7 separate regions of the Homo sapiens genome follow, and all the other regions are linked to region 1. Evidence: promoter capture Hi-C in 16 types of primary human blood cells and fetal thymus (Javierre and others, 2016). All regions are on one chromosome and are shown on one strand. Each heading gives the region's core, a stretch centred on a gene start or on the middle of the fragment in contact. The rest is flanking DNA. Distances are from core to core; before and after follow the strand shown.

Region 1 (2,955 bases), core at 245-2,744:
ACAGACTGAAACATTAATGGGAGAAATACAAGCATTTTACCATCCCACCTTTTATCCCAAGTACATGTGAATGGATATGGCCATTTATTAGAGGATGTTCTTGATTTAGTGGATACTTTAGTGGATTAGAAAAATAATCTTATTTTCCAACTCTGCCATTCTGATTTTGCCCAAATGAAAAAGTGGTGCATGTTTTGGGGAGAATAATTGCTCAGCTACTGATGCCGGAACTGAATTGTAGTACTGACTTATTTTTTGTACCCTGTTCGTCTTTTCCCTTTCTCACTGCTGGTGGCTAGGGACAGGGAGTAAAATATCTTCTTTACAACCTGTTAAAAGTAATGTGCTCAGCCTCTTTAGTGGGATGAAATTTGTGGTAATGAGTTACCAGAGCCTATGCCTCTTTGGATTGAAAAGCTTGTCAGGATCTTTTCTGGGTTGCTAATGAGTGTTTCCTAGACGCCGATCCAGGTTTTGTAGGACCTGAAGCCTACACAATTTGGATGACACGATTAAGAAAACAATTCGAAAATATCTTGAAAGTTTTGTAAAAACGATATGATTTTGTGAACGCACAGGGGCCCGTGCAAGTGAAGGACCTTTCAATTCAAGCTTGATCAACGTCACTGTCATCTGCCCCTTCTGACCCTACCACCAGGCTAAGGGCTTTCCACGCCTCATCTCTCGGTCCCCACACCATCACCCTAAGAAATAGTTACTGTATCTCCTAACGATATATTATATATAGTACCTACTTTGTGTAAACATACGGTACTCATGAAAACAAGCCACGTAGAGCACAAATACGTTAAATATCCTGTCCAGCCCGAATGCCCCTTTCTCTCCACGTCCCTATGCAGCCTCCCACGACGGTAGTCCTGGGGCTCCAGCGCTACAAGAGTGGCACCGAGTCCGGATTGTCTTAAGCAGGTCGAGAGGAGGGAGCATATGGGTAAAAAGCAGTCAAACTGAAGAGTCTGGAGCGGCCCCCAGCACAGTCTCGGGAAAAGCGGACTCCCCCGGGGCCCCAGGCCCCGCACCCCCGCGCCGGGCTGGCGCCTGTGCCTGCTCCGCGGCGCGCATGCTCCGTGTTAGGCCTCTTGGGCTATTCGGGATAATGAGCGCCGGGCCGAGGGGGCGGGCCGAGCCTCGGCTGCTGGGACTCAGGGCTCAGCGGCGACCCCAAGGCACTCTGCGCTGCTGCTAAAGGGGCAGCAACGGCGGCCAGCGCTGTGCGCGCCATAGCGAGGCTCGCTCGCCCGACGCGCACTCCGGGTCGGTCCCCAGAGCTCTGTGGAGGTGACTCGAGTGGGCAGGGCCGGGCGGCGCTGTCGGCTGGGAGGGCGGGGAGGAGGCGATGAGGAGACGAGCAGCCGCCGCCGCCGCCGCCGCTGCTCACCGCCCGCCGCGGCCGTAGCGGGAGTCGGGGCGGGGCTGGGCCAGCTGTACCCCTGACGGGCCGCGAACCCAGACAAAGGAGGAGGAGCCGCCCCAGAAGCGGGCCAGCGCCGCCGGGAAAGGAGGTCGCCGCCCGGGGTCGCCCGGGCTTGCGGGTCGCCGCGCTTCCTCTGCGGGCGCTGCGGGAGGCGAGGGCCGCCTCGGCGGAGGAAGCCGACCCCGGGGTCTCCGCCAGCCCGCCGGCGCCGCCTCCGAGCCGCCTCGGCCGTAGCCTCGGCCCGGGCGGGAGGCGGCGGCCGCCGGCGAGGCGAGGCGGCCCGCGCCCTGCCTGTCAGGCCACCGGCCCGGCCCGCGGGCTGCCCCCGATGCGGAGGCGCTGTCGCCGGGGCCATGCAGCAGGCGCCGCAGCCTTACGAGTTCTTCAGCGAGGAGAACAGTCCGAAATGGCGGGGACTGTTGGTCTCGGCCCTGCGGAAGGTCAGTGCTAGGGGCGGGGCGGCCGGCGGGTGGCCCGTGGCCCCCCGAGCTTCTAACGGGGAGCAGGTCGTCCCTCCCACAGGGCTCGAGTCCCCGGGGCCGAGCCGTTTCTCGTTGGCTGGCAATGGGGGGCTCACAATTGCCTGTTGCATTCTGAAGGACGTTTCTCAAGTTTTTTTTTTTTGCCTGGTCCCGGAAGGAAGGTTTTGTTATGATCATAAAACTGGATTTCATGTTGCAGTCATTTCGTCAGGCAACTTCCGCCGTTGACCAATTTGTTGTCCTCAGGCTGGAATCGGGCAAGAGAAAGTCCCGCTGGTATTTAGACAGTTTCTAAAACAAAAGCACATTTTCAGGCCGGGTAATTACTTTTAATTAAGTTCTTTGGGAGTGTTCCCCCTAGGCGGTTTGCTTGTCAAGGGTATCCACTTATGAGGCAATGGTTTTTTGTAATATGGATGTTTCACATGTGTGAAATGTCAGTGAGTCATAATATTCTTATTCATTTTACAGTTCTCAAGGTAAATTTAAAGCGCCTTCCCACTTCCTGCAAACGGTGTCTTACCTGTTTACAAGAGATTACCCTTAGAAAATTTGGTCAGTGTCTTCAGTGTCTTCACGACCAAATTGCGATTTAGGACTTGAAATCATTTTAAGGAACAAGAAAGGGGCAACTCCTGCAAATCAGTCTTTCATGTTTGGGTGCATTGCTAGGGTGCATCTTTCCTGTAGATGGTGGCGGTCTTCCTCTGTGAATTTAGGTAGTAACCATACGATCATTTTTATAATAAATCCTTCTGTAAGATCAAGACATTTAAAGACTGTGAATAGGTGCGTGATCAGCTGTCATGCCTGTTGAGCAGGGGCTTTCTTTCTTTGCCGTTAATGCAGACTTAGTCTCTTCTGCCTTTTGTGCAAAATAACCAAGAATACATTCTAAAATAAGGAAAAAATAAAGATTAATTTAAAAGACTATACTTGGAAAATATATCCTCAGACATTAAATTTCTATAAATGAAAGGAAGTAGTGTATTTTAAAGTTAAAGACATTTTCCTCATGCGATGAGAGTTGCAGATTTT
Region 2 (2,955 bases), core at 155-2,654, 500 kb after region 1:
TTAATTTTTAAGTAGTCTTATCGATCAGTCTTTTCATTTATGAATTTTGAGTTCATATCATCTTTACAAAGCTTTCTCCATGCCAACATTTTAAAGATAATCTGCTATATTTTCTTCTGAGACTTTCATGGTTTTATGGTATTTAATGGTACTTATACTTTGGAATAATATATAGCTCTGATTCCATCTCATTATACAAATTGCTAAGTTGATAGCTAAATATATTTGTTCTATTGTTAAATACATATTATGAGCTACAAATAAAATCCGACTTTACTCCATTACCTGTTCACCTGAGATGACCCCATTCAACCACTTCTTCATTTCTTCTACTGATCAATCCTCAAAAACTACTTAGTATAAAACCAGTACTTTTATATAATCTAATTTCAACTGTTAGTATTTTCATGTTTTATCTTGTCTGGTTAAGGAACAAACTCTATTTAAATCTATATAGTCCTTGCTTAGACATACGATCTGAAGGAAAAAAATACCAGTCCAGTTTTAAAGACTCACATTTGGATTATGGTGACATACAGACACATACACATGCCTATAGATTAAAACGTACTTAGACTTCAAACTTACCTTCCAGACCAAGTCCAGGTGTCTAGGTTTAGATAGTGCAAATCATTCATCCTAGTTTGCTAAAAGAAAAGTGTGTTACATTGGTCAGTATTTCACATCTTTTATCAGCTAAAATTTTTCTTTTAAAGTAAGTTCAGATTAAAAATAGACTATCTCTATTTTACTTCACATAAGATGTTTAACTATTGGAAAACAATGCTAAGCATTAATAAGACTGACACAGAGCTCCCAAATCAATGTGTCAAAGGGGAAAGGAAAAAATAGGAAGAAATAGGTTTAAATTCACAGGCTTTAGATGACAAGAAATTAATTTTTTCTGATACTGCACTGAAAGATTCTCCTCATTAAAATATGATTTATAATCATCTATGATTGTTCATGTATGGTCTGTTTATGAATTAGAAGATAAATAAAATTAGTATTGAATGCCATTTTAATCTCTAGATTACATGAATGTTCAATTATTCCACGAAATCAGAGGATAAATTTTTATAAGGAGCATTGCACATAAAAATACCATTTCCATTAAAAACACTAACCAGAACACGTCCGCCAAAGATATAACCCTTATTTCCAAGAACTGCACATGTATGCGCGGCTCGTGGCTGTGGTGGAACTCCACCCTGCAAGTAGAAATCAGAACAGACTGCAAAGACTTGAAATATCTGTAATAAAGTTACATTCCTATGCTCAGTATGTGAAAGTCTTAATCACTAAGTTATCATTACCTATGTAATTCAATTAAAAACGCTAATGCAAAAGTTTATTCTAAATAGTACTAATTGTAGACAAATACTATTTGTCAGAATACATTTTATTCTCCCTGATCTTTACTTTTGAAAATGTTTTTCTTATATGTCTGACACTATTTAGCAAAATAAGGTTTCATGTAAATTTTTGTTTGAAATACTGTATAAAGATTTTAAAATCAAATTTTAAAATGTTCTCTCTCTCCCTCTCTCCTCTGTTTCTCTTTCACACACACAGAGTTCCCATTAGAAGTGAGCAGTGCATATTGCGATTATCTCAGAAACTCTGTAAAATTAAAAATGGCCCCAAAACTCTTGGTGCCTCAAATTTACAATAAGAAGTTCACTCTTGGCTTAAGCCAGACAGTGCTCTCTCTCTTACTAAAACTCTTAACATTAATTGATAACACTTCTCTACACTTTATTTTGAATAAATATAGCAGACCTTTTCTTTAGAGAAGTTTTGTTTTTTGTTTCAAGGCAGAGTCTTGCTCTGTTGCCAAGGCTTGAGTGCAATGGCACAATCTCGGCTCACTGCCACCTCCACCTCCCGGGTTTATGCGATTCTCCTGCCTCAACCTCCCCAGTAGCTGGGATTACAGGTGTGCAACACCAGGCCCGGCTAATTTTTGTATTTTTAGTAGAGATGAGGTTTCGCTCTGCTGTCCAGGCTGGTCTCAAACCTCCTGGCCTCGAGCGATCTGCCTGCCTCAACCTCCCAAAGTGCTGAGATTACAGGCGTGAGCCATTACGCCACCCTAGGGAGGTTTTTAATTGGTGGAAAAAGTGAGTATCATGGGTAGATGAATGAATAAGGTTTGAGGGAAAAATCTTCTGCATAATTTCCATATTTTCATGGTGGGTGCCTTTATGTATGTATTTTAATTCCAAGTTCTGAAAGAACCTGACATTTTCAGCTCACTGGCTACTCAAAGTGGGTATAGGAAATTAAAGCTCTGCATCCAATATCATAACTTCCTAAACTTTTCAGGCTTATTTGAATAACTGTGCTGAGGTCAACTTGGTAAGACATAATTCAGATATTACCTATATAACACTTAAATGAGAACCACTTAAGAATTTTGGTTCCCAGCCCTTCCAGCAAAACAAAATTTTTATTATTACCCCAGGCTTGATCTGAAATTTTGGAAGAATTCTTCTACTATATAGAAGAGAATAGAAGAGTACTGGAAATCTGAAATTTATTGCCTGGAAAAAGAGAATCCAGAGAATGGCCAAACTCTAATACTTACGATTTTGTATAGACCTTCCCATCATTTCCATGAACAGAAGTTGGACTGTAAGGAATTCTGGTCATATATGTGTATTAGTAGACATGTATGTAACTGTGCATATACGACCTGCTTAGCATTCCACTCTGTTCAATTCTGGTAAGCTTATCAGTCACAATAGCCTCCTGTTCCTAGCAATGAACATGTGACTCAAGACTGGCCAATCATCCCTTTGGCATCAGGAATTGCTGTAAAGGGTAGGAACATGCCCAAGTAGAGGCAGAGTCCTTTTCTTTCTTTCTTTTTTTTTTTTGGTACAGACGGAGTCTCATTCTGTTGCCCAGGCTGGAGTGGTGCAGTGGAGCAATCTCCGCTCACTGCAACCT
Region 3 (2,955 bases), core at 283-2,782, 460 kb after region 1:
ATGCCTGGCTAATTTTTGTATTTTTGTAGAGATGGGGTTTCACCATGTTGGCCAGGCTGGTCTTGAACTCCTCACCTAAGGTGAGCTGCCTGCCTCGGCCTCCCAAAGTGCTGGGATTACAGGCGTGAGCCACAGCATCCAGCCTAACTGTTAAGTGGGACTACTACGCTAATTCTGAGATCTACAGTAAGTAAAATATTTAAAGCATAAAGTTCTCACAAAGCACACCATGGGGAAAACTACTTTGTAAATCCGCAACCATGGCTAACCCAGCATTTTGAGAAACACCTTGATTCTACCAGGGACATGCTCTTGACTACTACTGTTATGAAACTGCAAAAGATCATTTCAGATTATCTCCAGTTTACAAAAAGGGCAAACTGGAGGTCATTTTGGTTTTTAAACAGAACAACACTATTTTTAAAAAGATTTGCATGCAAATTTTGAGAGCTTATTAAAATAGAATACCACCTTTATTTTTAGCAGATAAAATTCTATACAATCTAAAATCTAACAATTTAACCATTTATAAATTCCTTTCCTTATTCAAGAGATCATATAACAGAAGACTTAACATCTTGAAAAAAATGGAACACTTATTTTTCCATTCTGGATCTGAAGCCTCTACATCTATTTTAAATATTACTATGATACTTGAGATAGAAATTTATTCTAAGTTCATAAAAGTATCTAGTAACTACAGAACAGGTGCTAAATTAAGCTTAGCAGCTAAGCTAAAGTAGCAGAACAGTGTTTTTAGAATATATAAGTAGCTTAGAAAGTGTTTTACATTTTTTTCTTTGCAGCCATATCTGATTTGTTTGTTTTTGGAGACAGTTTTGCTCTGTCACCCAGACTGGAGTGCAGTGGCTCGATCTCAGCTCACTGCAACCTCCGCCTCCCAGATTCAAGCGATTCTCCCACCTCGGACTCCCAAGTAGCTGGAATTAGCACGCCACCATGCCTGGCTAATTTTTGTATTTTTAATAGAGATGGGGTTTCACCCCAGCCTGGTGTTGAACTCTTGACCTCGAGAGATCCGCCCGCGTTGGCCTCCCAAAGTGCTGGGATTATAGGCATGAGCCAGCCACCGTGCCCAGCCCTTATCTGAATTTTTTAGTCCCCCTTATAATATCCACATTTACCATCTTCCAGTCTCCATGTTGTAGATCCATAGTTCTTCTCTAGGCAGATAAAAGTCATATAATCCTCTGACTTGATTACTCTAAGAATAAAAAAAATTGTAAATATAAAAACTGGTATTTTAAAGAGGCACTACTGTATTTTTTAAATCGATCTTGAGATACTAATTTCATAATTAGTATGAAAAATAGGTATTACAGTGCACAATCCTCCCCCACCCATGCCACACACTCAAGGTAAAGCTCAACATAGATAGCTCTTAATTCAGAATTTTGATACAGCAGTTGCAATAGGACAAGAAGAGATCTCTGGGAACTTTTTTTTTTTTAGTCCAAGTCTCTATTGCTCAGGATGGAGTGCAGTGGCGCAATCTTGGCTGGCTCACTGCAATGTCCACCTCCTGGGTTCAAGTGATTCTCCTGCCTCAGCCTCCTAAGTAGCTGGGACTGCACGCACTCGCCATCACGCCTGGCTAATTTTTGTATTTTTAGTAGAGACAGGGTTTCACCATGTTGGCCAGGCTGGTCTCAAACTCCCAACCTCAAGCAATCCACCCACCTCAGCCTCCCAAAGTGCTGGGATTACAGGCTGTGAGCCATTGTGCCCAGCCAAGAGATCTCTGGGAACTCTCTAAGGCAGCTTTATCCTGAACAGAACCATGCACCAAATTTCAGCTGCATGACTTCAGGAGACTGCCTGTGCCATGGTCAGCAGGCTGTTACTGAAAGTGCCTGATCCACGCTAACACGATGCGTGGTTTTCTAGCCATGCCTTCCTTTCACCTATCCATTCTCTAAGCAGCAATAGAGAGGGCAGAACTGCAAATATGCAAAATATTAAATCCTTATGCAGAATTTTAAGTTCTTTGTTCTGCTCCATTTCCCTTCAGGTATTAATTCCTAACACAGACTGAGCCTACCATATGCCACAGCTGAAAGCTATCCATGGATTGCTTTATTTAATCCTCACAACAACCCTAAAAAGTAGCTGATGTTATGAGAAAACAAGTTTAGAGTTTAAGTAATTTGCCCAAGGTTATTTATGAAGTAATGATGGAGCCAGGATTCTATCCTTTCCCTGAACTTTAACAACTGCCTGACATTCCCAGCCTTTGACCCTCCCTAGCCACTTTCTGAACAATGTTGACACAGTAAACGACTGCGGTTAGCCAAAAATGGGTGTCAAAGTCCAGCAAGCTTGAATATTAAACATACAGAAACAGAACAGTTGACCACGTAAAACAACTTCTTTTTCCACCCCACCAGTGATGAAGGGAAAGGCTGGAAGCGGGCTGACCCACAGGGGACCAGCCTGTCCTGGGGAGGAAAACTGCCTACTATGTAGGAAGCCAAGGTTTATTGCCTTTGAAACAATCTCCAAGGACTTCTGTGCCTACCCTCAGGGTTCCAGCCACCAGCCATAAATGGGGAGGGCAGTCTGTTTCAGAACCATCCAATTCAGTGATTGTGCTGCTCCTCCCTGAATCGGCCCCAATCATCCAGGCCCTTTTAAATCCACAAGAAATATTCCACACTAAGAATCCTCCCCTGCCCCACTCCCAAAGTCTTATTCTCTCATGCTGTCATTTTAAAAATACAATTATGAATTAGGTAGCTTAGAAGTGTCATTGACAGGTTTCTCCAGGGGAATTAATTTACATTTTTATAAGGGTGACTACATGCTTGCCCCCCCGCCCCCCTTCTTGCAATTCTCTACCCCTTTCTAAAGTATTTTTGAGACAGTTTCCTTCTTGTTGCCCAGGCTGGAGTGCAATGGCGCCGTCTCAGCTCACTGCAAACTCCGCCTCCCTGG
Region 4 (2,955 bases), core at 143-2,642, 440 kb after region 1:
CCAAAATCTTCTGATTTTGTAGAGTAAAATGAAAAAAATGAAAGAAAAATACAAAGACCAGGATGAAGAAGACCGTGAACTTATCATGAAGTTGCTGGGGGTAAATAACATCTAAAAACATTTTTTCTTTTGCTTTTCAAATGGGCATCTAGCCCACTGCCTAGCGTATGACAGGCATTCAATACATTCTTGTTAAAATATTCACAGTATTGAAAATACAACACTGACTGATGTTTCCTCTATGAATTAAAGTCTGCAGGTTCAAACAAAGAAGAAAAAGGGAAGAAGGGGAAGAAAGGAAAAACAAAGGACGAACCTGTGAAGAAACAGCCCCAGAAACCTAGAGGTGGACAGAGGGTCTCTGACAACATTAAGAAAGAAACTCCGTTCCTTGAGGTTATAACTCATGAGTTACAAGACTTTGCTGTAGATGATCCACATGATGACAAGGTATGGCTACTTTGTGGGCTTCTGCTTCTTAATTAGGGTGATTACCCATCCTGGAGTTCCCAGGACATGGGACTTTCAGTGCTAAAACCAAGACAAGTGAGTAACCCTATTCTTAATGGAATGTCATCCAGAAATACAACCTGAAAGACTAAAATTGCAGTATCTTATCTAAGCATGATAATGGTAGTACTGATAGCTGATAACAATTTTGTTACAAGCCTTTAGGAAGTAATCAGTTTTAAGGAGAGGCTTTGATTCTGATGGGAACTGAATTAAATTAAGACAGAGAGGCCTGGCACGGTGGCTCACGCCTGTAATCCCAGCACTTTGAGAGGCCAAGGCAGGCAGATCACAAGGTCAGGAGATTGAGACCATGCTGGCTAACGTGGTGAAACCCTGTCTCTACTAAAAAAATACAAAAAAATTAGCCGGGTGTGGTGGTGAGCGCCTGTAGTCTCAGCTACTTGGGAGGCTGAGGCAGAATAGCGTGAACCTGGGAGGCAGAGCTTGCAGTGAGCCGAGATTGTGCCACTGCACTCCAGCCTGGGCGACAGAGCGAGACTCCATCTCAAAAAAAAAAAAAAAAAGAGAGAGAGAAAATTGGGATTGTCTTGAAGATGTGTAGAAAATAAATTTTCACTTTCTCTAAGCTTTTCTATAGGAATCTATGCCATATGGTCGTACATAATGTTGAAAATGAGTACACCATTTAAGAGCCAAGTACTCTGGTTACAAAACCAGTGAGTTCGTATTTTTCCAGCTAAGATGATTGCCTAATTGTTTTATTAACAGTACAGCAAGCCCAGCCTTCTGTATATCTTCTTACATGAATATGTACCTCTTCTTGAATTTTTTTTTTTTTTTTTTTTGAGGCAGTCTTGCTCTGTTGCCCAGGCTGGAGTGCAGTGGCACAATCTCAGCTCACTGCAACCTCCACCTCCCGGATTCAAGCAATTATCCGGCCTCAGCCTTCTGAGTAGCTGGGATTACAAGCATGCACCATCACGCCTGGCTTATTTTTGTATTTTTAGTGGTGATGGGGTTTCACCATGTTGGCCAGGCTGGTCTTGAACTCCTGATCTCAGGTGATCCGCCTGCCTTGGCCTCCCAAAGTGTTGGGATTACAGGCGTAAGACACATGCCCAGCCTGTTTATTTTTTAATAACGGCTTAAAATAGAGGCCAGATAAAAAATTTTTACCTTTGTCACCAGCATTTTTTTTATGTAAAGCTTGAGTTATAATTGTGTGCTCAGTTTAGTGCAGGTAATGCTTACAGGGATTCTGTATTACTATTTTCTTTTTTTTCCTGCTGAACAGTTGTTGTTTAGTAATACTAAAACTCGTTTTGGCTTTTAAAATTTGTACAATATCCTTATGTTCTGTAAATCCTAGACTCACAAATACTCACTAGAGGTGTTAATTATTAATGTTCTTTCATGAGTAGGTGCTATGGTCTAAATGTTAATATCCCCCCACAATTCATATATGGGAACCTAAATACCCAGTGTGATGGTATTAAGAGGTTGGGCCTTTAGGAAGTGAAGTCACGAGGGCTCTTCTGTCATGAATGAGATGAGTGCCCTTTTGCCACGTGAGGACACTGCAATAAGGTGCCATCTTTTTTTAAGATGAGGTCTCCCTGTGTTGCCCAGGCTGGTGTCGAACTCCTGGGCTCAAGGGATCCCCCGACCTTGGCCTCCCAAAGTGCTGGGATTACAGGTATGAGCCACCACACCCAGCCTAAGGTACCATCTTTGAGGCAAGCCCTTATCAGACATTGAATCTGCTGGTGCCTTGATGCTGGACTTCCCAGCCTTCAGAACTGTAAGAAGTAAAATTTCTGTTGTTTCTAAATTATACAGGCTAAGGTATTTTGTTACAGCAGCCTGAACAGACTGAGACAGTCAGTTATCTCCAGATAGATTTTTCTTAAGCAAACAAAATTAAGCATATTTTATGGGATATGGGAAAAATTTATCCAAAACTGTTGAACAGATATTTAAAAATAAAAGTTCTGTTGACCAAAATTCTCCATTTGCTTTTCTCCTGGCAAACTTATCAACCTTAGTTGTCATTTTAAATTGTACTTGTAACTTTTGCTGCTTTAACATATACTTTATATGAAAGTTTCAGTTCCCACCTCCTCTACTTCAGAGAACTACCCTTCTTCTCTTGAATGACATTACTTTCTTAAGTAATAAAACAGACACACACAAACACATATACGAATCCACTTCAGAGTCTTAGGAAGAATATAACCTTGAGGCCCCCTATCCTGTGGGTCAGAAATGACAGTCTGGTTGTATCACTGTTTCTTTCTCCTTATGGTTTAATGATGTGGAATTTTCATTTTACATTATAGCTGACATTTTTATTTTTATATGTTCGGAACAGGAAGAGCAAGATCTGGATCAACAGGGAAATGAGGTATGATTTTATGTTGGGGTTCCTACTACAACACTGTGATTACAATTCAGTTCCCAGAATGTTTGAAACACAACTTA
Region 5 (2,955 bases), core at 131-2,630, 410 kb after region 1:
CAAACAAGTGAACAAAGGTCTCTGGTTTTCCTAGGCAGAGTGTTTGTGTCCCTAGGTACTTGAGATTGGGGAGTGGTGATGACTCTCAACGAGCATGCTGCCTTCAAGCATCTGTTTAACAAAGCACATCTTGCACCGCCCTTAATCCATTTAACCCTGAGTGGACACAGCACATGTTTCAGAGAGCACAGGGTTGGGGGTAAGGTCATAGATCAACAGGATCCCAAGGCAGAAGAATTTTTCTTAGTACAGAACAAAATGAAAAGTCTCCCATGTCTACTACTTTCTACACAGACACAGCAACCATCCAATTTCTCAATCTTTTCCCCACCTTGCCCCCTTTTCTATTCCACAAAACCGCCATTGTCATCATGGCCCATTCTCAATGAGCTGTTGGGTACCTCCTCCCAGACGGGGTGGTGGCTGGGCAGAGGGGCTCCTCACTTCCCAGTAGGGGCGGCCGGGCAGAGGCGCCCCTCACCTCCTGGACGGGGCGGCTGGCCGGGCGGGGGGCTGAGCCCCCCACCTCCCTCCCGGACGGGGCGGCTGGCCGGGCGGGGGGCTGAGCCCCCCACCTCCCTCCCGGACGGGGCAGCTGGCCGGGCGGGGGGCTGACCCCCCCACCTCCCTCCCGGACGGGGCGGCTGGCCGGGCAGAGGGGCTCCTCACTTCCCAGTAGGGGCGGCCGGGCAGAGGCACCCCTCACCTCCTGGACGGGGCGGCTGACTGGGCGGGGGGCTGACCCCCCCACCTCCCTCCCGGACGGGGCGGCTGGCCGGGCGGGGGGCTGAGCCTCCCACCTCCCTCCCGGACGGGGCGGCTGGCCGGGCGGGGGGCTGACCCCCCCCACCTCCCTCCCGGACGGGGCGGCTGGCCGGGCGGGGGGCTGACCCCCCCCACCTCCCTCCCGGACGGGGCGGCTGGCCGGGCGGGGGGCTGAGCCCCCCACCTCCCTCCCGGACGGGGCGGCTGGCCTGGCGGGGGCTGACCCCCCCACCTCCCTCCCGGGCGTGGTGGCTGCCGGGCGGAGACGCTCCTCACTTCCCAGACGGGGTGGCAGCCGGGCGGAGGGGCTCCTCACTTCTCAGACGGGGCGGCCGGGCAGAGACGCTCCTCACCTCCCAGACGGGGTCGCGGCCGGGCCGAGGTGCTCCTCACATCCCAGACGGGGCGGCGGGGCAGAGGTGCTCCCCACATCTCAGATGATGGGCGGCCGGGCAGAGACGCTCCTCACTTCCTAGATGGGATGGCGGCCGGGAAGAGGCGCTCCTCACTTCCCAGGTGGGGAGCACTGAGTTAACGAGACTCCGTCTGCAATCCCGGCACCTTGGGATGCCGAGGCTGGCGGATCACTCGTGGTTAGGAGCTGGAGACCAGCCCGGCCAACACAGCGAAACCCCATCTCCACCAAAAAAATACGAAAACCAGTCAGGCGTGGCGGCACGCACCTGCAATCGCAGGCACTCGGCAGGCTGAGGCAGGAGAATCAGGCAGGGAGGTTGCAGTGAGCCGAGATGGCAGCAGCACAGTCCAGCTTTGGCTCGGCATGAGAGGGAGACCGTGGAAGGGGGAGGAGAGAGGGGAGAGGGGATTTTGTACTTTTTGTAGAGATGGATTTCACCATATTGGCCAGGCTAGTCTCGAACTCCTGACCTCAAGTGATCCACCCTCCTCGGCCTTCCAAAGTGCCGGGATTATAGGCATGAGCCACCGCGCCCAGCCGATTATTAGCTCTTGATACAATACTTTCAGAATCTGAAACGGAGAGGGTAAGGAACTTCAGCGAAGTCATGCAGTGACCAGAGGACAACGCGTAAGTGCTGACAGGTTTGAGGAATGACTCTGTCATGGCACCAAACTCAAAAGGTATTCATTAACTTTTCTTTGAGCCATAAAAAGGATCAAATGTGTCATTTCAACAAACACACAGACACTTGCCTGCTGTCAAAAGGAAATGGGGGCCAGCCACAGTGGCTCATGCCTGTTATCCCAGCACTTTGGGAGGCCGAGGCGGGCAGATGACAAGATCAGGAGTTTGAGACCAGCCTGGCCAATAAGGTGAACCCCCGTTTCTACTAAAAATACAAAAATTAGCCAGGTGTGGTGGCTTGTGCCTGTAGACCAAGCTACTCGGGTGGCTGAGGCAGAAGAATCGCTTGAACCTGGGAGGCGGAGGTTGCAGTGAGCCAAGATGGCGCCTCTGCACTCCAGTCTGGGCAACAGAGTGAGACTCTGTCTCAGAAAAAAACAAAAACAAAAAAAAAAAATGGGTGGCTGAAGTGGCATTCTAATCCTCTGAAATCATTTCCCAAAGGTAATTAGCTAATGGGTATCACAACATCCTACACCCTCAGAGCAAGTGAAGGGAGGGCACTGGACTAGATGCTCACAAATGAAAACACACAGATTTTGGGTACATGCAATTGCTCTACCTCAGGGACATCAACATTCAGAACTCTCTCCTTTTCACAATGTTTCTATAAAGACAGGGATAGGCTAGGTGCGGTGGCTCACGCCTGTAATCCCAGCACTTTGGGAGACCATAGGCGGGCAGATAACCTGAGGTGAGGAGTTCGAGACCAGCCTGGGCAACATGGCGAAACCCCGTCTCTACAAAAATACAAAAATTAGCTAGGTGTGGTTGTGCACACCTGTAGTCCCAGCTACTTGAAAGGCTGAGGTGGGAGGATCACTTGAGCCTGGGAGGCAGACGTTGCAGTGAGCCAAGACTGTGCCACTGCACTCCAGCCTGGGCAACAGAGCGAGACTCCATCTCAAAAAAATAAACATATATATATATATATATATATATATATGGTCTATAATATGTTTTTATTATATACATATGCATAATGAAATGAAACAGTCAAGCACATTAACATATGCATCATCTCACGTAGTTACTCTGTTTTTTGTGTGTCTGGTAAGAGCACTTAAAAATATACTCTCAGCAAA
Region 6 (2,955 bases), core at 291-2,790, 390 kb after region 1:
AATAAAGGGACTGGGTGTGGTGGCTCACGCCTGTAATCCTAACACTTTGGGAGGCCGAGGTGGGCAGATTGCCTGAGCTCAGGAGTTCGAGACCAGCCTGGGCAACGTGGAGAAACCCCGTCTCTACTAAAATACAAAAAATTAGCCAGGCGTGGTAGTGGGCGCCTGTAGTCCCAGCTACTCTTGGGAGGGTGAGGCAGGAGGATTGCTTGAACCTGGGAGGCAGAAGTTGCAGTGAGCCAAGATTGTGCTACTGTACTCCAGCCTGGGTGACAAAGTGAGACTCCGTCTCCAAATAAATAAATAAATAAATAAATAAGTAAAGGTTGGCTGGGCACAGTGGCTCATGCCTGTAATCCCAGCACTTTGGGAGGCTGAGGTGGGCGGATCACGAGGTCAGAACTTCGAGACCAGCCTGACCAACATGGTGAAACCCCGTCTCTACTAAAAATAGAAAAATTAGCCGGGTGTGGTGGCACACGCCTGTAATTTCAGCTACTCAGGAGGCTGAGGCAGGAGAATCACTTGAACCTGGGAGGCGGAGGTTGCAGTGAGCTGAGACTGTGCCACTGCATTCCAGTCTGGGCGACAGAGCGAGACTCTCTCTCAAAATAAAGTAAATAAATAAAGGTTGTGGCTTATGAGTGAGGTCATTAGGACCACAACAAGGAATTTAGCAGTGGTATAAAGCAACAAAGCAAATTTTGCTATAGGTCCATCATTCTCTACTTAAAAATTGAAAATAAAAGCCTGGCTCAGTAGCTTACGCTTGTAATCCCAGCACTTTGGGAGGCCAAGGCAGGAGGATTGCTTGTGCCCAGGAGTTTGAGATTAGCCTGGGCAACATAGTGAGACCCTGTCTCTACAAATAATGAAAAAATTAGCTGGGGATAGTGGCATGTGCCTGTGGTCCCAATCCTCAGGAGGCTGATGCAGGAGGATCACCTGAGCCAGGGAAGTCGAGGCTGCAGCGAGCCATGATCACACCACTGGGCTCCAGTTTGGGTGACAGAGTGAGACCCTGTCTTAAAAAAATGCAAATAAAACACTGTTTCAGAGTTAGTGTTTATAATAAAATGTTTTCCCTCTGATTATCATCTGCAATCTATTACTTTATGACTATACTGTTATTCACAACGTTTTAAATATTCCTGATGATAATGAAAAGAAGCTTATTTATAAACCAATACCAAATGGTTAGGAATTCACTTTTACTAAATGAATGCCTTTTTCTTTCTCTTGCTAGTGCCGAAAACATTTGAAGAGTCGGAGATTAGTCAGTGCAAAACAGCTTGGTGTGGATAGAATTGTAGATTTTCAATTTGGAAGTGATGAAGCTGCTTACCATTTAATCATTGAGCTCTATGATAGGGTAAGTTAAATTTGTGGGATATGGTGAAGGAAAATTTCTTATTAATCATTTTGTAATAGTGCTATATAACATGAGTGGGGGAACATTTTTTTTCTGTGTCAAAGGTTGTTACTACCCTAGGAAATGGGTGCCACACAAATAAAATAAAATTTTCCAGTAATAACCTTCATTTTATCTGTAGGTCTGAGTTTAGGCAGACTTTAGCCATTTAGAATAGCCTTATGAATGTAGGAGATGAAGATCTGAGAAGTAAATTATTTGGTACTTGACATTTCAGGACTAATATGCAACCAGAAAATAGTCAAATACGGTCATGCACTGATGCGCTGTATGTATAGTGATGTTTCAGTCAACAACAGACTGCATATAAACGTTGGTCCTGTAACATTGTAATGGATCTAATAAATTCTTACTGCTTAGTGACATCTTGATCCTGACTCTGTGTAGGCCTAGGCTGGTGTGTGAGTTTGTGTGTTAGTTTTTAACAAAAACATTAAAAGTAAAAACAAAACAATTTAAAATGGAAAAAAAGCTTAGAGAATATGGATCTAAAGAAAGAAAGTATTGTACAGCTGTACGATATGTGTTTTAAGCTAAGTGTTATTACAAGAGTCAAAAAGCTAAAAAGTTTAAAGTTTATAAAGTAAAAAAGTTCCAGGAAGCAAAGGTTAATTTATTATTGAAGAAAGAAAAACATCTTAAAAATAAATTTGGCTGAGCGCAATGACTCAGGCCGGGCACAGTGGCTCACACCTGTAATCCTAGCATTTTGGGAGGCCGAGGAGGGCGGATCACCTGGGGTCAGATCACCTGGGGTCAGGAGTTCAAGACCAGCCTGGCCAACATGGCAAAACCCCGTCTCTATTAAAAAATACAAAAATTAGCTGGGCGTGGTGGCGGGCACCTATAATCCCAGCTACTCGGGAGGCTGAGGCAGGAGAATCACTTGAACCTGGGAGGCAGAGGTTCCAGTGAGCTCAGATTGTGTCACTGTGCTCCAGCCTGGGCAACGGAGCAAGACTTTGTCTCAAAAATAAACTAACTAACTAACTAACTAACTAACTTAATCTGGGCCAGGTGTGGTGGCTCACACCTGTAATCCCAGCACTTTGGGAGGCCAAGGCGAGTGGATCACCTGAGGTCAGGAGTTTGAGACCAGCCTGCCCAATGTGGCAAAACTGCATCTCTACTAAAAATACAAAAATTAGCCTGGTGTGGTGGTGCGTGCCTGTAGTCCCAGCTACTCGGGAGGCTGAGGCAGGAGAATCACTTGAACCTGGGAGGCAGTGGTTGCAGTGAGCTGAGATCATGCCATTGTACTCCAGCTCAGGTGACAGAGTGAGATTCAGTCTCAAAAAGGAAAAAAAAAATATATGTGTGTGTGTGTGTGTGTGTGTGTGTGCGCGCGCGTGCGCGTGCGTGTGTATGTATATAAATAAATAAATACATAAATTTAATCTGGTCTGAGGTAAGCATAATTTTTTTAAAAATTAAAAAATAAAAAACAAATTTAGTGTAGCCCAAGTGTGCAGTATTTATCAAGTCTACAGTAGTATGCAGTAATGTCCCAGGCCTTCACATTT
Region 7 (2,955 bases), core at 168-2,667, 370 kb after region 1:
TTTGAACTGGGAAGGTGGTGGTTGCAGTGAGCTGAGACGCGCTACTGCACTCCACCCTGGGAGACAGAGCAAGACTCTGTCTCAAATAATAATAATAATAAAAGATTATACTGCCACCAAAAACATAGTAACATGTGGGAAAGAAAAGCAAGACACAGATGTTTTATTTACAACATAATTATAATAAAAATAGGTATGCATGGCCGGGCGTGGTGGCTCATGCCTGTAAGCCCAGCACTTTGGGAGGCTGAGGCGGGTGGATCACCTAAGATCAGGAGTTCGAGACCAGCCTGGCTAACATGGTGAAACCCCGTTTCTACTAAAAATACAAAAAATTAGCTGGGCATGGTGGCACGTGCCTGTAATCCCAGCTGCTCTGGAGGCTGAGGCAGGAGAATCACTTGAACCCAGGAGGCGGAGGTTGCAATGAGCTGAGATCACACCATTGCACTCTGGCTTGGGCAAGCGGAGCGAAACTTCGTCTCAAAAAATAAATAAATAACAAAAATAAAAATAGGTATGCATATAAATACAGATTGTAGAAGAATACAGAACTCAAACTAGAAAATCAGACTCTTCTTAGAGGATACTGAGGATGGTTCATCCCATTGGGGTGCCCTGTAGATACCTGGAGCTCTTTTGGTTCCTGCTCTGAGTTCTGCTTATCCAGGATTTTCTTCTGGGAACCTCCCTCTATTAGTTAGAGTACAGAGTATGCTGTAATAATAAAGAGACCCCAAAATATAGTGATTGAATTAAGATGGAAGCTTATTTCTCATCTAACAGTCCAGAGGTAGGAGTGGTGGAGGCTATAGGGTGGATCAGCTTCATTAATTCATCCATGGACTCTGCTGTTTTGGTTTTATTTTGGTTTGGTTTGGTTGTTTTTTTTTTTTTGTTTTGTTTTGTTTTGTTTTGTTTTCCAATCCTGCCCCTTCTGCATTCACTGGTTTCTTTCCTCGACCCTAGGTATTTTTCCTAATTTGCATGGTTAAAGGTGGGGCACTGCAGTGGATCTGCACTGGCGCCACCTAGCGCTGGAAAGGCCAAGAGGGCCAAAGTAGAGGGCAACCGATTTCTTTTTAAGCAAGTGATGCAGAGGACACATACAACTTTCATTCATATTCCATTAGTGAGAACTTGACCACACTTGGTTGTAAGGAAATTCAGGCAATGTGGTCTCTAGCTGGGATTCATGTGCCCAAGTAGCAATGTATTAGCACTGTAAAAGGGGAGAACCGACTTTGGGGGACAACTAACATTTCATGATCTGCCCATTTTCTTCTGACCAACTTCCTCGAGATAATTTTCTTTCTTCTGAATTTCCTAAAGAGAGGTTCGTTTACTTCAGTTTACAGACAGTCCTTGTTTGCTTCAATGTACCTTAACCGATGCCTCATTCTTCAGGCCCTAATTTAAATGATACCTCCTAAAAGAGGCTTACCTGACTACATTCTCAAAAGCAGGTGCCCCACCTGCTTCCTACCACCATTGTTCATATCTCAGTACTGTGCTTCCTTCACCGGTACTTATCACAGTTTGAAATTATAATTTTTTTTGCTAAGTTTTTGTCTGTCTCTTCCACTCTGTCTCTTTTCTTCACCACCACATCTCTACCACCTAGTACAGTGCCTGTCACTGGATAAGTAAAAAGTAAGTATTTGGTATTGAATGGATGAAATAGTAGTCAAGGATGACTCTGAGAGTTCTGAAGTGAGCAACTAAACATACTGATGAGCCAGGCACAGTGGCTCACGCCTGTAATCCCAGCACTTTGGGAGGCCGAGGCAGGTGGATCATGAGGTCAGGAGTTCAAGACCAGCCTGGCCAACATTGTGAAACCCCATCTTTACTGAAAATACAAAAATTAGCTGGGTGCGGTGGTGGGCACCTGTAATCCCAGCTACTGAGGAGGCTGAGGCAGGAGAATCACTTGAACCCAGGAAGCGGAGGTTGCAGTGAGCCGAGATCGTGCCACTGCACTCCAGCCTGGGCAACGGAGCAAGACTCTGTCTCAAAAAATAAATAAATAAACATATTGATAAAAAGAAAAAATGGGTAAGCTTGGAGGAAGAAGAGAAGATGATCAGTTTTGTTTGCAAATACTGAATTTGAAGTTTTGAATGATTTCAAGGTGACATCCAGAAGGCAACTAAAAATGTGAATCTGAAGCTCTGGAAACAGCATCAGATTGGAACTACAGATTTGAGAGCCTTGAGAATTTATTACATCACTCATGAAGAACACGGTGAGAGAACAGAGAACATTTAGGAGGGAACTGTAAGGAACAAAAACATTTGCTGGGTGGGCAGAAGAGAGAGCCTGGGAGGAAATATCAGGGGCTGTGAACAAGAACCAGGGAGAAGAAACGTTCAGGGAGGAAACAGCAGTCACAAGTGACAGAGATTGGTGGTAAATTACATCACCTATGTCAGAAAGGGTCCCTTAGACCTGCCAATTAGGAGGCTTGGGTATCGTAGCCTTAGCTAGAATAGTTTCAGTGGATTGGTGGGCTATGGACTGAAGACAGAAGGTTAAGAAGCAAATGTAGCAATTGTAGAACATGGTTTCAAGAAGTGCAGCCATGAAAACAACAGACAGATTTCATTTAGAAAGGCAAGGTCAAAGGAGTTTTTTTACTTTTTTTTTTTTTTTTTTTTTAGAAGAAAGGCAGCTTGGAATCTGTATAAATGAAAGAGAGAGATAGAATGGGTAAAAATGATTGATGGAAGAATTTTGACCTACTGGGTTTGAGGTAGGAGGGGAAAACAGAAGGGTGCTCTTCTCTGAAGGTGTAAAGATAAATTTAGAGCGGACAGAGCAGCAAAGAGTTGAAAAGTTTTTGTCTGTTGGCCTTCAATTTATCCATGAAGGAAGGAGCAACGTTATCTGCTACAAGGACGGAGGTGGCGGGGAAAGTCTGGACTGGTTTTTAGGAGACAAGGGGTGGGGGGT

What was found. The method cuts DNA at HindIII sites, captures the fragments that hold promoters and counts their contacts. A CHiCAGO score of 5 or more calls a contact.
Region 2: a contact is called between a fragment that was not itself captured here and the fragment with the promoter of SOS2 in region 1, in 1 of 17 cell types (total CD8 T cells). The highest score is 5.4, in total CD8 T cells.
Region 3: a fragment that was not itself captured here is called in contact with the fragment with the promoter of SOS2 in region 1 in 9 of 17 cell types (non-activated CD4 T cells, fetal thymus, activated CD4 T cells and 6 more); the score reaches 9.9 in non-activated CD4 T cells.
Region 4: a fragment that was not itself captured here is called in contact with the fragment with the promoter of SOS2 in region 1 in 1 of 17 cell types (total B cells); the score reaches 5.2 in total B cells.
Region 5: a fragment that was not itself captured here is called in contact with the fragment with the promoter of SOS2 in region 1 in 3 of 17 cell types (total B cells, naive CD8 T cells and naive CD4 T cells); the score reaches 7.2 in total B cells.
Region 6: a contact is called between a fragment that was not itself captured here and the fragment with the promoter of SOS2 in region 1, in 9 of 17 cell types (total B cells, naive B cells, activated CD4 T cells and 6 more). The highest score is 9.8, in total B cells.
Region 7: a contact is called between a fragment that was not itself captured here and the fragment with the promoter of SOS2 in region 1, in 9 of 17 cell types (fetal thymus, erythroblasts, non-activated CD4 T cells and 6 more). The highest score is 8.7, in fetal thymus.

The regions. Positions count from the first base shown.
Region 1 is chr14:50,230,117-50,233,071 of GRCh38, reverse strand. It overlaps SOS2 (SOS Ras/Rho guanine nucleotide exchange factor 2), which reads left to right and starts at 1,494. Exons shown (of 23, transcript NM_006939.4): 1 at 1,494-1,875. The coding sequence starts at 1,789. RefSeq lists an enhancer at 583-672 and a silencer at 823-1,902. The HindIII fragment of the contact is 6,352 bases long and covers 615-2,955 here.
Region 2 is chr14:49,727,182-49,730,136 of GRCh38, reverse strand. It overlaps KLHDC1 (kelch domain containing 1), which reads right to left. Exons shown (of 13, transcript NM_172193.3): 7 at 1,128-1,211; 8 at 589-647. Among named protein-coding and RNA genes, the nearest start is that of KLHDC1, 36 kb to the right of the region's middle. The HindIII fragment of the contact is 2,662 bases long and covers 74-2,735 here.
Region 3 is chr14:49,769,864-49,772,818 of GRCh38, reverse strand. It overlaps KLHDC2 (kelch domain containing 2), which reads right to left. Exons shown (of 13, transcript NM_014315.3): 2 at 1,146-1,225. Among named protein-coding and RNA genes, the nearest start is that of KLHDC2, 3.2 kb to the right of the region's middle. The HindIII fragment of the contact is 1,618 bases long and covers 724-2,341 here.
Region 4 is chr14:49,786,641-49,789,595 of GRCh38, reverse strand. It overlaps NEMF (nuclear export mediator factor), which reads left to right. Exons shown (of 33, transcript NM_004713.6): 27 at 23-100; 28 at 253-450; 29 at 2,846-2,878. Among named protein-coding and RNA genes, the nearest start is that of KLHDC2, 20 kb to the right of the region's middle. The HindIII fragment of the contact is 580 bases long and covers 1,103-1,682 here.
Region 5 is chr14:49,819,254-49,822,208 of GRCh38, reverse strand. The region is part of intron 16 of NEMF (nuclear export mediator factor); the gene reads left to right. Among named protein-coding and RNA genes, the nearest start is that of NEMF, 32 kb to the left of the region's middle. RefSeq lists an enhancer at 1-553. The HindIII fragment of the contact is 6,022 bases long and covers 1-2,955 here.
Region 6 is chr14:49,844,557-49,847,511 of GRCh38, reverse strand. It overlaps NEMF (nuclear export mediator factor), which reads left to right. Exons shown (of 33, transcript NM_004713.6): 4 at 1,247-1,372. Among named protein-coding and RNA genes, the nearest start is that of NEMF, 6.8 kb to the left of the region's middle. The HindIII fragment of the contact is 733 bases long and covers 1,174-1,906 here.
Region 7 is chr14:49,863,629-49,866,583 of GRCh38, reverse strand. LOC105378179 (a long non-coding RNA gene) reads left to right here. Exons shown (of 3, transcript XR_943839.3): 2 at 2,135-2,955. Among named protein-coding and RNA genes, the nearest start is that of NEMF, 12 kb to the right of the region's middle. The HindIII fragment of the contact is 1,296 bases long and covers 770-2,065 here.